Linked DNA regions of Homo sapiens: region 1 is linked to region 2. The links are contacts of gene promoters, found by promoter capture Hi-C in human tissues and cell types (Jung and others, 2019). All regions are on one chromosome and are shown on one strand. The core of a region is centred on a gene start or on the middle of the fragment in contact, and the rest is flanking DNA. Distances in the headings are between cores, read along the strand shown. Region 1 holds the start of NOBOX (NOBOX oogenesis homeobox). Region 2 holds the start of OR9A2 (olfactory receptor family 9 subfamily A member 2).

Region 1 (6,047 bases), core at 2,640-5,139, 1.4 Mb after region 2:
TTTTCTTTTTTTCTTTTTTAGACGGAGTCTCACTCTGTTGCCCAGGCTGGAGTGCAGTGGCGCAATCTCAGCTCATTGCAACCTCTGCCTCCCAGGTTCAAGCAATTCCCCTGCTTCGACCTACCAAATAGCTGGGATTACAGGCACAGGCCAGCATGTCTGGCTAATGTTTGTATTTTCAGTAGAGGCGGGGTTTCACCATGATGGCCAGGCTGGTCTCAAACTCCTGACTTCAGGTAATCCACCTGCCTCGGCCTCCCAAAGTGCTGGGATTACAGGCATGAGCCACTGTGCCTGGCTCCAGCCTCATTTTCTGATGTGATAACCCAACCTTCCCTCTGAGGGTCAGAGATAGTTGCACTACCGCGGCCCAAGAGAGAATCCGGGACGAAGTGACATACAAACTAACCCCATCCCTCAGGTCTCCTGGGGGTAGATTCTTCACACAGCCCCACCTTTCCCCAGGATGACCCCAGATCTCTTCGGTTTCCTCTCTTTAGGGACTTACCTGAGCGGTATAGGGTTCGTGTCTTTTTCCTAATTTGGCAGGTCACTTCCGGGGGCCCCTGCTTGTGGTCTCTGTTTTGGTTGCTCTGCGCCAATGTACTGAGGAGATTGGCCAGGTGGCAGGGCCCCCGGCCTGACCCACAGGGCACTGGGTTGTGTGTGGCACGGGCTGAGTTAGGGGCACCCGGAGATGATGTTGGGGCCAGACCCATGGCATTAGGCTTTTTCTGCTTCCCGGGGGCTGGAGAATAGGACCTCTTTCCTATCTTCACCTCTCCCACTGGGAGGGAACAATCTTCCCCCTGAGTCTGGGGCCTGGAGCGGGCTAGAGTTCTGTCTTTGTGGGGAGCCCTGGAGCGGGGGGGCGGGCACAGTCTCCCAGCATCAGCCCCGGTGGCTTCTCCAGAGACTGCTGGCGGCTTCTTCTCTCCTGAGATGGTGCAGGAGGGTGGCAGTTCCTCACTCTGAGTGTCCTGAGCATGAGGGGCTGAGCCCCGGAGCAGTTCCTCCTCCCCGGGTCCTGCAGCCAGGGGCTTCTCTCCAGCTTTCTGGCCTGTGGGGAGCCAACATCCACTGACCTTAGCACCAGGGAGAAGGAAGAACTGGACCAAGAGGAAGTGCTGCTTCCTGCTTTGCAAACGGTTTGATCTTAAGCTTTAATTTGTCTACCTATCAAATGGGGTAATAATTCCACACTTACCTTCCTAGCTTGACTATTGTGAGGATTAAATCAGATAACCCAACTTCTTTGAAAAATGTAGACAAATTTATGCAATTCTGAGACGGCGTTAGCTCATGGTATCTCCTAATTTGGGGGTACTCACCCCTTGTGAGTTCCCTTTTCCCAGACACCAGGGGTATGAGTTTGAGGGACTGTTCAGGTATCTCTAAGGGATCATGTTGGGGCTGCGGATGGACCAGGAAGACAAAGAGAAACAGATTGACAGAGATTCTGCTTCTCCCAAGGCGGGATGCTGTTTCTGCTGCACAACAGGCATTATTGCTTGGAGAAGGGACAAGAAAGGATTCGATTGTCTCCAGCAGCCGAGGCAAGAGCATCAAAAGAGATAACAGGGAGAACCATGGAACTCTGTCTCTGCCAACTCTCCTCAGCTCCATACATGCCCCCCCGCCCGCACCCCCCACCCCACTACCATCCAGCACATCCACTTCCTCCCCCTCCCTGCAAAGCAGGATCTCACTCTCTGGTAAACCTCTCTTTCGAGTAAGGAAACTGGGACCCAGCTAGAACTAAAAACCCTACCACTCATCCCTAAAGCTTGCCTTCCTTTCTGTGAGCTGACTGATGCATTGGGAGCTTATCATGTTCCAGGCATGGCGCTAAGCACCTTTCAAAGATTAGCACAGTGCATATTTAATCTCTGCAAGAACGGCACTGCTAATATTCCCTTCTAACAGATGAAGAAATGAGGATGAGACAGCAGAGTAATATGTCCAAGATCACACAGCACCCTGAGCACGTACTCTGTGTACTTAATCACCACATGGAGTCCTTCCTGGGGCCATCAAATGATCCCCCCACTTTCACCTCCCAACTGACTCATAACTCCAAGAACCCTCAGCTCAGGGAGCTGCTTTATCATTTCCAACTAAATTGGAACATTTGTAATGAATGCTAAGTAACGACTAAGAGCTACTGTTACTTTAATGAAAATTGCATGAGATAGGTCTTAAGGAATAACATTTTTTTTTTTTTTTTTTTTTTTTTTGAGATGGAGTCTCGCTCCGTCGCCCAGGCTGCAGTGACATGGTGCAATTCTGGCTCACTGCAACCTTGGCCCCCTGGGTTCAAGCGATTCTCGTGCCTCTGCCTCCCAAGTAGCTGGGATTACAGGTGTGTGCCACCACACCCAGCTAATTTTTGTATTTTTAGTAGAGATGGGGTTTTGCCATGTTGGCCAGGCTGGTCTCCAACTCCTGACCTCAGGTGGTCCACCAGCCTCGCCCTCCCAACGTGCTGGGATTACAGACTTGAGCCACTGCGCCTGACCCTAGGAATGACTTTGTAACAGAGTGTCAAGGAAAAAGGTCATGGTCAAGGGTGCTGTTCCAAGTCCTTTCCTAGGACACAGGCTGGACCCGACTTGCATGAGAGGGTCTGGGCTGGTGAAGAGGGTGAGCAGGCCTCTATGGAGTGAAGGGACAAAGCTGGCTGGTGGTGTGGGGAAGCAGGGACAAATTTGTTTTACAGCATTTTAGGAGAGCTTGTACTGTAGCAAAAAGCCTGGTACCCAGCACTGTGGGTGCTCCGTAAGCACGTGTCCTATGGGAGTGATGTGCGCTAGTAAGAAGGGGACGGGTGTCAGACCTAAGACTAGAAGGGTCCTGGGGCTCCCAGGGTTCTCTCCCCTGCGCGCTGGGAGACTGGAGGCGGGCAGGGGGCGCGGGGGAGCGGGGAGGGGGGTTGCAATCCCAAAGCACAGGGGGCAGTGAGGTCGGCCTCCTCCCACCCTACCCCACCCGACTCCACCCGGCCCTCGGCCTACTGAAGCTCTTAGGTCGGCTAACGCTGACCTGGTGATCACAGGCCTCCCCCCCTCCCCGAACCCCCAAAGCCTGACCCCCTCGCACGACGGGGTCTCCACACTCACCCAGCGGTCCCTGGCAGGGATTCTCTGTGGGTTCCATGGCCTGGACTCCCGCCGCCGCGGCCGGCCCGTGATGCACAGGCGCGGCCTAATGAAGCCTCGCCGGGCGGGCAGGTGTGCAGCCCGCACGGGCCGGGCCGGGCCGGGGGAGCCGTAGCCCGAGGCTGCGCCCCCTCACCCCCACCCCCACCCCCAGGGCGAGGCCGGCCCGGGAGGCTCGGCTGGGGCAGCTGCGAGGGCGGGGAGGACCCGGGCCTGGGCGCCGCCTGCTCCGCTCCCCCCAGCCAGGAGCCCAGGCCCAGGTGCGGGTCTCCTTCAGGCGGCCCCTCCCGTGGCGGGGCTGGAGGGCGAGGCTGGGGTGGGAGGCGGGAGCGAGGCTACCCGGTGGTCTTCGGGGGGCTGGGCCCAGCCGTGGGGCTCACCCACACCCTATGGAGGACTCAGTCCTGGATCGTGGCTAAAGCCCTTCCCTGTGGACTGTGGAAGGCGATTTCTAGAGCCACTCCTCAAAGGGGAAGCGCTGGGTTGCCCAACTCCCATGCTAGGGCCCCTCCAAGCCTCAGTATTAAGGAGCTTCAAAGTCCCCTTCCTGATTTTGTTTGTTTTTGTTTTTGAGACGGAGTCTTGCTCTGTCGCCCAGGCTGGAGTGCAGTGGGGGATCTCGGCTCACTGCAACCTCTGCCTCCCGGGTTCAAGCGATTCTCCTGCCTCAGCCTCGCGAGTAGCTGGGACTACAGGCGCCCGCCACCACGCCCGGCTAATTTTTTGTATTTTTAGTAGAGACGGGGTTTCACCACGTTGGCTAGGCTGGGCTAGAACTCCTGACTTCAAGTTATCTGCCCGCCTGGGCTTCCCAAACTGCTGGAATTACAGGCGTGAGCCACAGCGCTCGCCCCCCGTACTGATTTGAGGGTCTCCAGAGCACAAAGGCTGCACCGGATGATGAAGAAGGAGCTGAAAGAGCCACAGACTCCGTAGATCCGGTACAGTCCACACACAGGAAATTCAGGTACAGCCAGGGGCGGCCCTGCCAGGGACGGTGTGGTTACTGTGTTTCCATCCATTTGGTGTTTCGATTTTATTCTCTGAGAATGGAAGGGACTTTCTTGGGGGAGATCTCACAGGGGTGCAGCCTTATGATTCCTGGTTCACGGAATGTTTCTTACTATCTTTATACAAACAAAATCAGAATTTAAAAATTCTTGCCTCTTCTGAGCGGGGAGGGGTAGAAAGTCGGAGGGCTGGTCAGATAGAAACAGGTGCTTGGAGCTGGGTGGGGAGCGGGGCGGCCTGGAACAGAATCCAGGTGTTTTGCTTTAAGGATTTAAAAGACTCTGGACACCACGTGCTTTCATGCTGAAATCAGCTGTGGGTACATTTTCCTATTCCTTTAATTGCCTTGAGGGGCTTGGCCTACACATGTGGACTTTGGAGGATTGTGAGACCTTTAGTTCTTTCTGAAACACAAAAATGTAAACTAACTTCGAATATGATCAAGACTTCAGGCATCTGCTGTTTCATTCTGATGCCTTCCATAAGGCGGATAGCTTCTGTTTTATGAGGCGTTCAGATAGATGGGGCCCAGTTTCTGTGCTAGAAATGAAGCATTCCAGGACAAGTGAGCAAGCAGTTGTGGGGCACTGACATTGCTTCCAGGATCATTTGATGGTGAAAAATCAGGACCATTTGGTGGCGACATGGTAAATGGAACCCAGGCACGTCCTTGCTCACAGAAGCTTACTGGTGGAGGGAAGATCATCAAATGATCATGTCAGGGTAGTGTGGTCAGTGGTGAGTTAGAAGTATGAAAGGCTACTATGGAGTACGGAGGAGCAGGAACCCCTTCTGGACTAGGATGGAAGCTTCTTGGAGAAGGTGACACGTGGGCTATGAGCTGTGGAGTTTACCACATCACAGTCCCGCTTAAAACCTGACAGTGACCCCTGACTGCCAGGATGAACGGCAAGCTCTGACATCTGGGTCTTTCCCCTGGATCCTCAGCTCCCCTGTGTTGCCCACCTGGGTATTTCAGTGGTGGTGTGTGTATGTCTTTTTTGGCCTAATGTTTCTCAAAGAATGTTCTTAAAACCCCCTGGATCAGAATTTCTTAGGGAATTTGTTTAAAATGGGGGTTCCAATCCCCAGAAATCTTAATTGGTTGGTCCAAGGAGGTACCCAGAAACATCCATTTGAATCCCCTCAGGTAATTTTTGTGCGTTTCAGAGTTTGAGACACTTTTAGACTTTGCAAAAACTAAGTCAGTTAAAAACTATCCTGGGGATAGGAGTAGGGGCAAGGGATGGTAGGGGCCTGTGTGGGGAAAGGAAATGACCTTTTGCCCTTTACTGAGGTGTCTGCTGCAGTGAGAAGCGGGTGCAATTAATTTCTTAACAGATTATCCTGTCACATTAAACTGAAAATAAGTCATCCTTCTCTGCCATTGTTTATGTTGTATTTCCTCTCTCTAGCTGGCTCCCCTCTGCCAGGGTGAAGGTCAGAAAGCAAAGATCCAAATTGCCCATAGGCTGTATGGCACCCTTCCACAAACTGAAAGATACAGGGTCTGAGTCTACAATAGATTTGCATAGGGACTTAGAGAATTTAAAATATTGGCATTTTTCCAGCGGGGCACAGTGGCTCATGCCTGTAATCCCAGCACGTTGGGAGGCCAAGGTGGGCAGATCACCTGAGGTCAGGAGTTTGAGACCAGCCTGGCCAACATGGTGAAACCCTGTCTCTACTAAAAATACAAAATTTAGCTGGGTGTGGTGGCACACGCCTGTAATCCCAGCTACTTGGGAGGCTGAGGCAGGAGAATTGCTGGAATCCAGGAGGTGGAGGTTGGAATAAGCCAAGATCATGCCACTGCACTCCAACCTGGGTGACAGAGTGAGACTCCGTCTCAAAAAAGAAAAAAAAAAAATTGGCATT
Region 2 (6,245 bases), core at 537-3,036:
AAAAGACATTATAAAGTTTGAAGTCTAGATCTGGATACAGTCTGAACAGACATAGTTGTGTTTAACAGCCATAAAATACAGGATGCTCTCTAGAATTAGTCATTTAGTTCTTATTTGCCCCTGTCCCTATACTCACCACAAAGAAGGGCAGTGAAAGGAATATGCTGAAGCTTAACAAAAATAAATTTTCCTCCATTTTTATCCTCAAATATTTTTATCTTCTTTACACCACAAATATCTCCTGAATGAGAAGCATTCCAATCCTCATATCGCCATTCTAGACTGGTTCTGTGACAAAACGTAAACAGTGTTACACTTCCTTTCCAGTATCAATGGGGCAGAGAGAAAGAGCTTTAGGATATCTAAAATGCATATGGCCATCTTGCCAAAAAATTGCACAAAAATATAGGGAAGAACTTAGCAACAGGTGATGAAGGACCAAAGTGAGCATCTCTACCTTTCTACTCTGATTAGGACACCTTTCTCAGTACACCTCCCTCCACACTTCCTCCCTTCCCCAGAAAATACATTTTCAGAGATGGACTATGAGGAAATGAGTTGGGCTAATAGAATTCTTACAAAAATGTCTGCATTTCCTTTCTCTAGTCCCCCCCAAATCACAAGAATATGTTCAACAGTGGAAACAGGCAGGAACTAAGGCTATGAGAGTCTCCTGGACAGACAATGGATTTCATTATTACCAGCCTAATCTACTTCCATGGTGTGATGGCGAATTGTACACACTCTTTGACTTTTGTAATGAGAGGATAAGAGAAAAGAGGAGTTAGAATTTTCTAGGTGACTTAATAATTAACCCTGAGGCTTGGACCACCTAAAACTGACTTACAGAACAGCTAATCTTTCAGGAGTTGACAGCAGCGTTTCATCCCATCTCGGAGGGCCTCTTTGACTTTGTCATTCCGAAGAGTAAAGATGAAAGGATTCAGGAAGGGGGTTAACACAGAAACCAACAGGGAAACTATCTTATTGTACTCAACTCCCTGTGTTTGCTTGGGTTTCACGTAGAGAAACAAGCAGCTGCCATAGCCAATCACAACACAGGTGAAGTGGGAGGCAAAAGTGGAGAAGGCTTTCCTCCGGCCAGAGGCTGACGGGATCTTGAGGATGGTGGAGATAATGTAGGTGTAGGAGACAATCGTAGGGATCAAAGAACCAATGAGAATAAAAACAGCCATTAAGAAAAGGATAAACTCTGTGAGAAGAGTGTTATCGCAGGACAGTTTGAGCAATTGCCCTCGGTCACAGTAAAAATGGTCTAATGAATTTGATTTGCGGAAGGTAAACTGAAATGTGGCATAGATGGGCCAGATTTCAGAAAGAAATCCAAACACCCATGACACTATTACCACCCAAATACAGGTACTGCTGTTCATAATGATGTTGTACCTCAAAGGGTTACACACAGCCACATAACGGTCCACAGCCATCACTCCAAGTAATGCAAACTCCATGGTCCCACAGGAAAAGTTGAGCGATACATGTAGAGAAAGATACTGTCTGCATCCCAGGAAGAGCAATCCCCAAAGCATCATGGGGACAATTATGGTTGTGACCAGGATCTCCAGGGTAGAGAGGTGGCTGAGGAAGAAATACATGGGGGACTGCAGACGTTTATCCACACAGACAATCACAATGATGACCGTGTTTCCCATTAATGTCACTAAATAGAAGAAAAAGAATATAGCAAAAAGAATGTGGTGTAGTCCTTGGGACCCAGGGAAGCCTAGAAGGTGGAATTCAGTGGCACTAGAGTGGTTGTCCATCATTTAGTCCTTGATTCTGCTTGTTTTGAAGCCCAGAGATTAAAAGAGAGGTGGCATTGCTCCACATGGTCCTGCTCTCAAGAGAGAAGGAAGAAAAATTAGGTTAAGAAACTATTTCCAACCTGAGAATCAGGTGACATGTCCCTGCTACTGTGGTCGGCACATACATAGCTTGAGGTACATGTTGTCATCCCAAGTCTACAAGTGAGGCTCTCACTTCCCTGTGTAACCAGCCCCCTAGAATGGGTGAAGACATCTTCTTCTACTGGTGGTGAAATACCTTCCTTGCCTTTTTCCCCATTAAATATACCTTCTCTCGGGGGCAGAGGCTAAGACCTTTTAAATAGGCCAGTTTTAAAGGTGAGTCAATCAGGTCCCTCCGGTCCTGGAGTTACTTTCTCTTAGGTTAACTGTGCAAGATGACACAAAGGCATTTTATATGATGTTCAAAGGACAGAATTTTAAACCCCAGCTCTCATCTGTAATGGTAATGCATAGACCCACCTTTGGGGCCAGCAGAAAGGAGGCAGAGGATGTAAGACTAACATCTCTGCTGTTCCAGATTTTAAAATCTCCATTTTACAGAACAGCAAGATCTCTAAATGAGAACTCTAGAGCTTGGGATAATTTCCCAGAACAGATCCATTCTTCTCTAATTCCATTTTCCTTCCAAAGTTGTGGGAGGAAGGAAAGATGGCACCTGGCACAGAAAAGGAATAGATCTGGGACCGCCAGCTGTTAAGGATGCCTGGCTCTCTGCCTGTCGCTTCATTCCATTATTCAAATGTCACCCTTTCCAAAGACTCTTTCCAATCACTCTGCCCAAAACAGAAAAGACACACTTATTATTGGACTTCCATTTTTTTAATAACAGTTGTTATTACCTTGTATTATGTCTAATTATTTACTTCATTCCTTTATTTAACAATAAACAAATGTAGTCATGAACAGAACAAAGAAAATTCCATGCCCTGTGGAGCTTATATTCAAGGAAGAGGTGGGGGCTAGACCACACACAAGACACCTAAGTAAAATATGCAATAGTTTAGTTTGCTTATCATGTCACAGGGAAAAAAATAAGCAAGAAAGAAGGAGAGGAAATTTAAGTGTATTTATTATTTATCAACGGCATTAGAATATAAACTCCATGAGGGCTAGGACATGTCTTCACTGTTGTATTCTGAGGCTGGCACATAAAATGTACATACATAAATTAAGTAGTTATATATTTTATATATATATATCATATATCTTTTATATAGATATAGACAGATACATTATGTGAAATGAATATATCATAGATATATCTTATATATTAAATTATGTATTAATTTATCACAAGGTAACCGAACTAATAGCTGTGTGAGTCAAGATTTGAACCTAGGTCTGTCAGATTTCATCACTCACACAGCTAACTACCACACCTTATATTATATTATTATCTTATATTATTTATCTTATTTATATAAGATATATGAAATAAGATATATGAAATATATCTTATATTATATAAAATATACATATATTTTTTATTTATAAGATATTTAAATACATAAGATATATGTATCATATACATAAAATAAGTAGTGCTGACAAATTTTGCTAGATGAGGTATGGATGGATGGATGGATAATATATGATTAAATAATACTTGTTCTGGCCAGGGCCTGGGCCACATTCCCTCAATCCTATTCTGGTTGGTTTTCCTTCCTGCCTCACATTACCATTTTCCCTCCTGCCCTTCCCTTGCTTAGGTAACCCCTTCCCTGTCTACGTCACTGTTTTACTAATGGTTTAAAAAGCTTCAGGGACAGAATTGATGGGAAAGCTCAGTGTTCTGGTTTTCCACAACCTCTGCATAACCAGCACGAGATGAAGAAACATGAGCGAGAAGGACACCGACTGTCAGGGAGCCGTGACTGTGTTAGCATTGGGTCCAAGAGGAGCCGGAAGTGCTCTCTGCTATGCAGGAAGGGTCTGGAGATGAGCCTATACACTCTACTGCTCCCCTAGCCCACACTTCAATATCTGGGTGACTTTGTTCTAGAAGATAGGCAGGCCCAGGATGTCCCATCCTAAAATGCTTTTACCCTCTTCTTCATAGAGGAGACCCCTTGGAAAGACACTCACCTTTACAGAGGGGCTTCGCCGCCTCTTCTGATGTTCTCTAGGGCTCCGCTGAGGCTACCTCCTGTCCTGCTAGTGCTGAGCCATGCACAGGGGCCAGAACAAGTTGCTGCAATCCCCACTCATGGCGAAGAAGGGAAATGTCCTCCCAGAGGAGCTTAGGAAAAAGCCCAGAAATGAGTGTTGGGCAAAGTTGAGGGTCCTCTCTCTCTCCCCTCTCCTCCCTCTTCCCTTCTTCCCAAGGGTACTTAATCACCGAGTTACTACTTCTTAATTAGCCCACGTTCAGGGAGTCCCCAGGCAATCAGTCTAGTGGGAGCAGAACAAACTTTAAGTTATTCCCATTTTTTGACCAATTAAGTTTTAGAACTTTTGAAAGTTTTTGTTTGACGGGAAAACCTGAAATCTTACCAATCAGGGACTTCTTAATACTGGGGCTGCCTTCCTGAAAACCTCAGGTCTAGGTTTCCAGATGTCTCAGATTCTAAACAGTCAACTACCTCTGTCGTTTATCTTAGGCTTTTCTCAAGTTTCTCTAGTTATTCGGAGCCTAAATCAACCCTTTTCCCCCAGTAGGAGACACCACAATTGGCCTCTAAAACATGCACCAATATCCCAAAAAAGTCTGCATATTGGTCTTGGTCAAAGCCTTAACTTCACCAAATATCTTCTAAAAAGCCTGATGACTCCTTCATTCATTTTAAAAAGGCTCCTGCGTTTAGTCCTGTGGACCCTACAGAATACTGTAAGAGGTCCCTCCCCTAAATCGAACTCTATTCTGTTCTATTGTCTCAGGTTTTCACTCCTCTTGATATATGTGCATCTGTATGCATTCCAGCAAGATTCTTCCAGACTTTTTTTTTTCCTATGGCATGTCCCTGATTACCAGCTGGACCACTGCAAAGTAGAGAGAGCATAAGGACAGCTTATGTACACAGTTCTGTTTGCAACCTGGAGGAACTGACAAAATGTAAGTTGGAAATCTGTCTAATGCTGGAGTAAGACAGAAAAAGTAGGAATTACAAAACATTTGTCTGCATTTTTGTTTTCATTTTAAGTATTTTAAGTACACCTGTTAAATCTGAGAATTTCAATTGGTGCCTAAGGGTATAAATTGGGATTAATCTTTCTTCCAATTCCTTAAATTGCCCAAGCCCAAATACTTGCCATATAATTTTAGAGAAATTTTCCAAGCATGTATCTCCATATTCTTTTTCGTAAAGGCTGTGAAAATCTGTTTGCAACCTTTTCTTTCTCATTTAACAACATATAAAATATATCTTTCCATGTCAGCACATATTACTCTACCTCTTTTTTTTTTAACATAGGATTCCATTATGTGGATGTCCTATTCTTTATTAGATAGACATTTATTAATTAATTTTCATTGTTGTTTCCATTTTTAATTATGAAAAAATGATGCTATAAATATTCTTAGATATTTGTAAGTACATAAACATGTACTTGTAAGTAAAGTAAGTACGTATACATGTAAGTACATAAACAATTATATTTCTGAAAAAGAAAAAAAAGATTCCCTAGAGTTGGAATGTCTGGGTCAAATGCAGATGTATTGAAGCTATTACTTTTTATTGGCACCAAATTACACTCCAAACATTTTGTATTGATTCACACAATTACTAAGACTGTGTAATAGAAGGGGTCTTGTTTTCCTGACCTGTTATAAGCCAAAGGCATAATTAAAATTTTAATTTTAAGTTGAAGAGAATAAAAACAAGACACCTTAAAAGGGAAATCAATTAACAAGCCTGATGAAATGGAAAATTTTTGAAAGATAAAAATGACCAAAACCAACTCAAAAACAAATATGGATATAGAATCAACTTGAGTATCCATCAATGGATGAGTGAACACAGAAAATGTGGTGTATATATACAATGGAATAGAATTCAGCCATTAAAAGGAATGAAATCTTGTCATTTGTGGCAAAATGGAGAAAACTGGAGGGCATTCCATTAAGTGAAATAAGCCAGGCACATAAAGACAAATACCACATGTTCTCACTCATATGTGGAAACTAAAACAGTTGATCTCATAGAAGTACAGAATAAAATAATGGTTAACAGAAGCTAGAAAGGATATAGGGGAGGGGAAGACAGGAAGAGTTTGGTTAGTGGTTACAAAATTTCAGTTAAATAGAAGAAATAAGTTCCAGTGTTCTGTGGCATAGTAGGGTGACAAGTTTAATGACTATCTATTGTGTATTTCAAAATAGCTAGAAGAGAGGAATTTGAATTTCCCCAACACAAAGAAATGATGAACGTTTGAGGTTATAGATATCCCACTTACCCTGATTTGGTCACTACATGTTGT

Evidence for each region. The method cuts DNA at HindIII sites, captures the fragments that hold promoters and counts their contacts. A contact is called where the count stands out against the background at its distance.
Region 1: a fragment that was not itself captured here is called in contact with the fragment with the promoter of OR9A2 in region 2 in 1 of the 25 tissues and cell types used here (spleen).

What each region holds. Positions count from the first base shown.
Region 1 is chr7:144,400,538-144,406,584 of GRCh38, forward strand. It overlaps NOBOX (NOBOX oogenesis homeobox), which reads right to left and starts at 3,156. Exons shown (of 8, transcript NM_001436401.1): 1 at 3,120-3,156; 2 at 509-1,060. The coding sequence starts at 3,156. The HindIII fragment of the contact is 4,832 bases long and covers 1,474-6,047 here.
Region 2 is chr7:143,025,346-143,031,590 of GRCh38, forward strand. It overlaps OR9A2 (olfactory receptor family 9 subfamily A member 2), which reads right to left and starts at 1,787. Exons shown (of 1, transcript NM_001001658.1): 1 at 855-1,787. The coding sequence starts at 1,787. The coding sequence ends at 855. LOC105375544 (a long non-coding RNA gene) reads right to left here. Exons shown (of 2, transcript XR_001745395.1): 2 at 3,915-6,245. The HindIII fragment of the contact is 7,003 bases long and covers 1-5,528 here.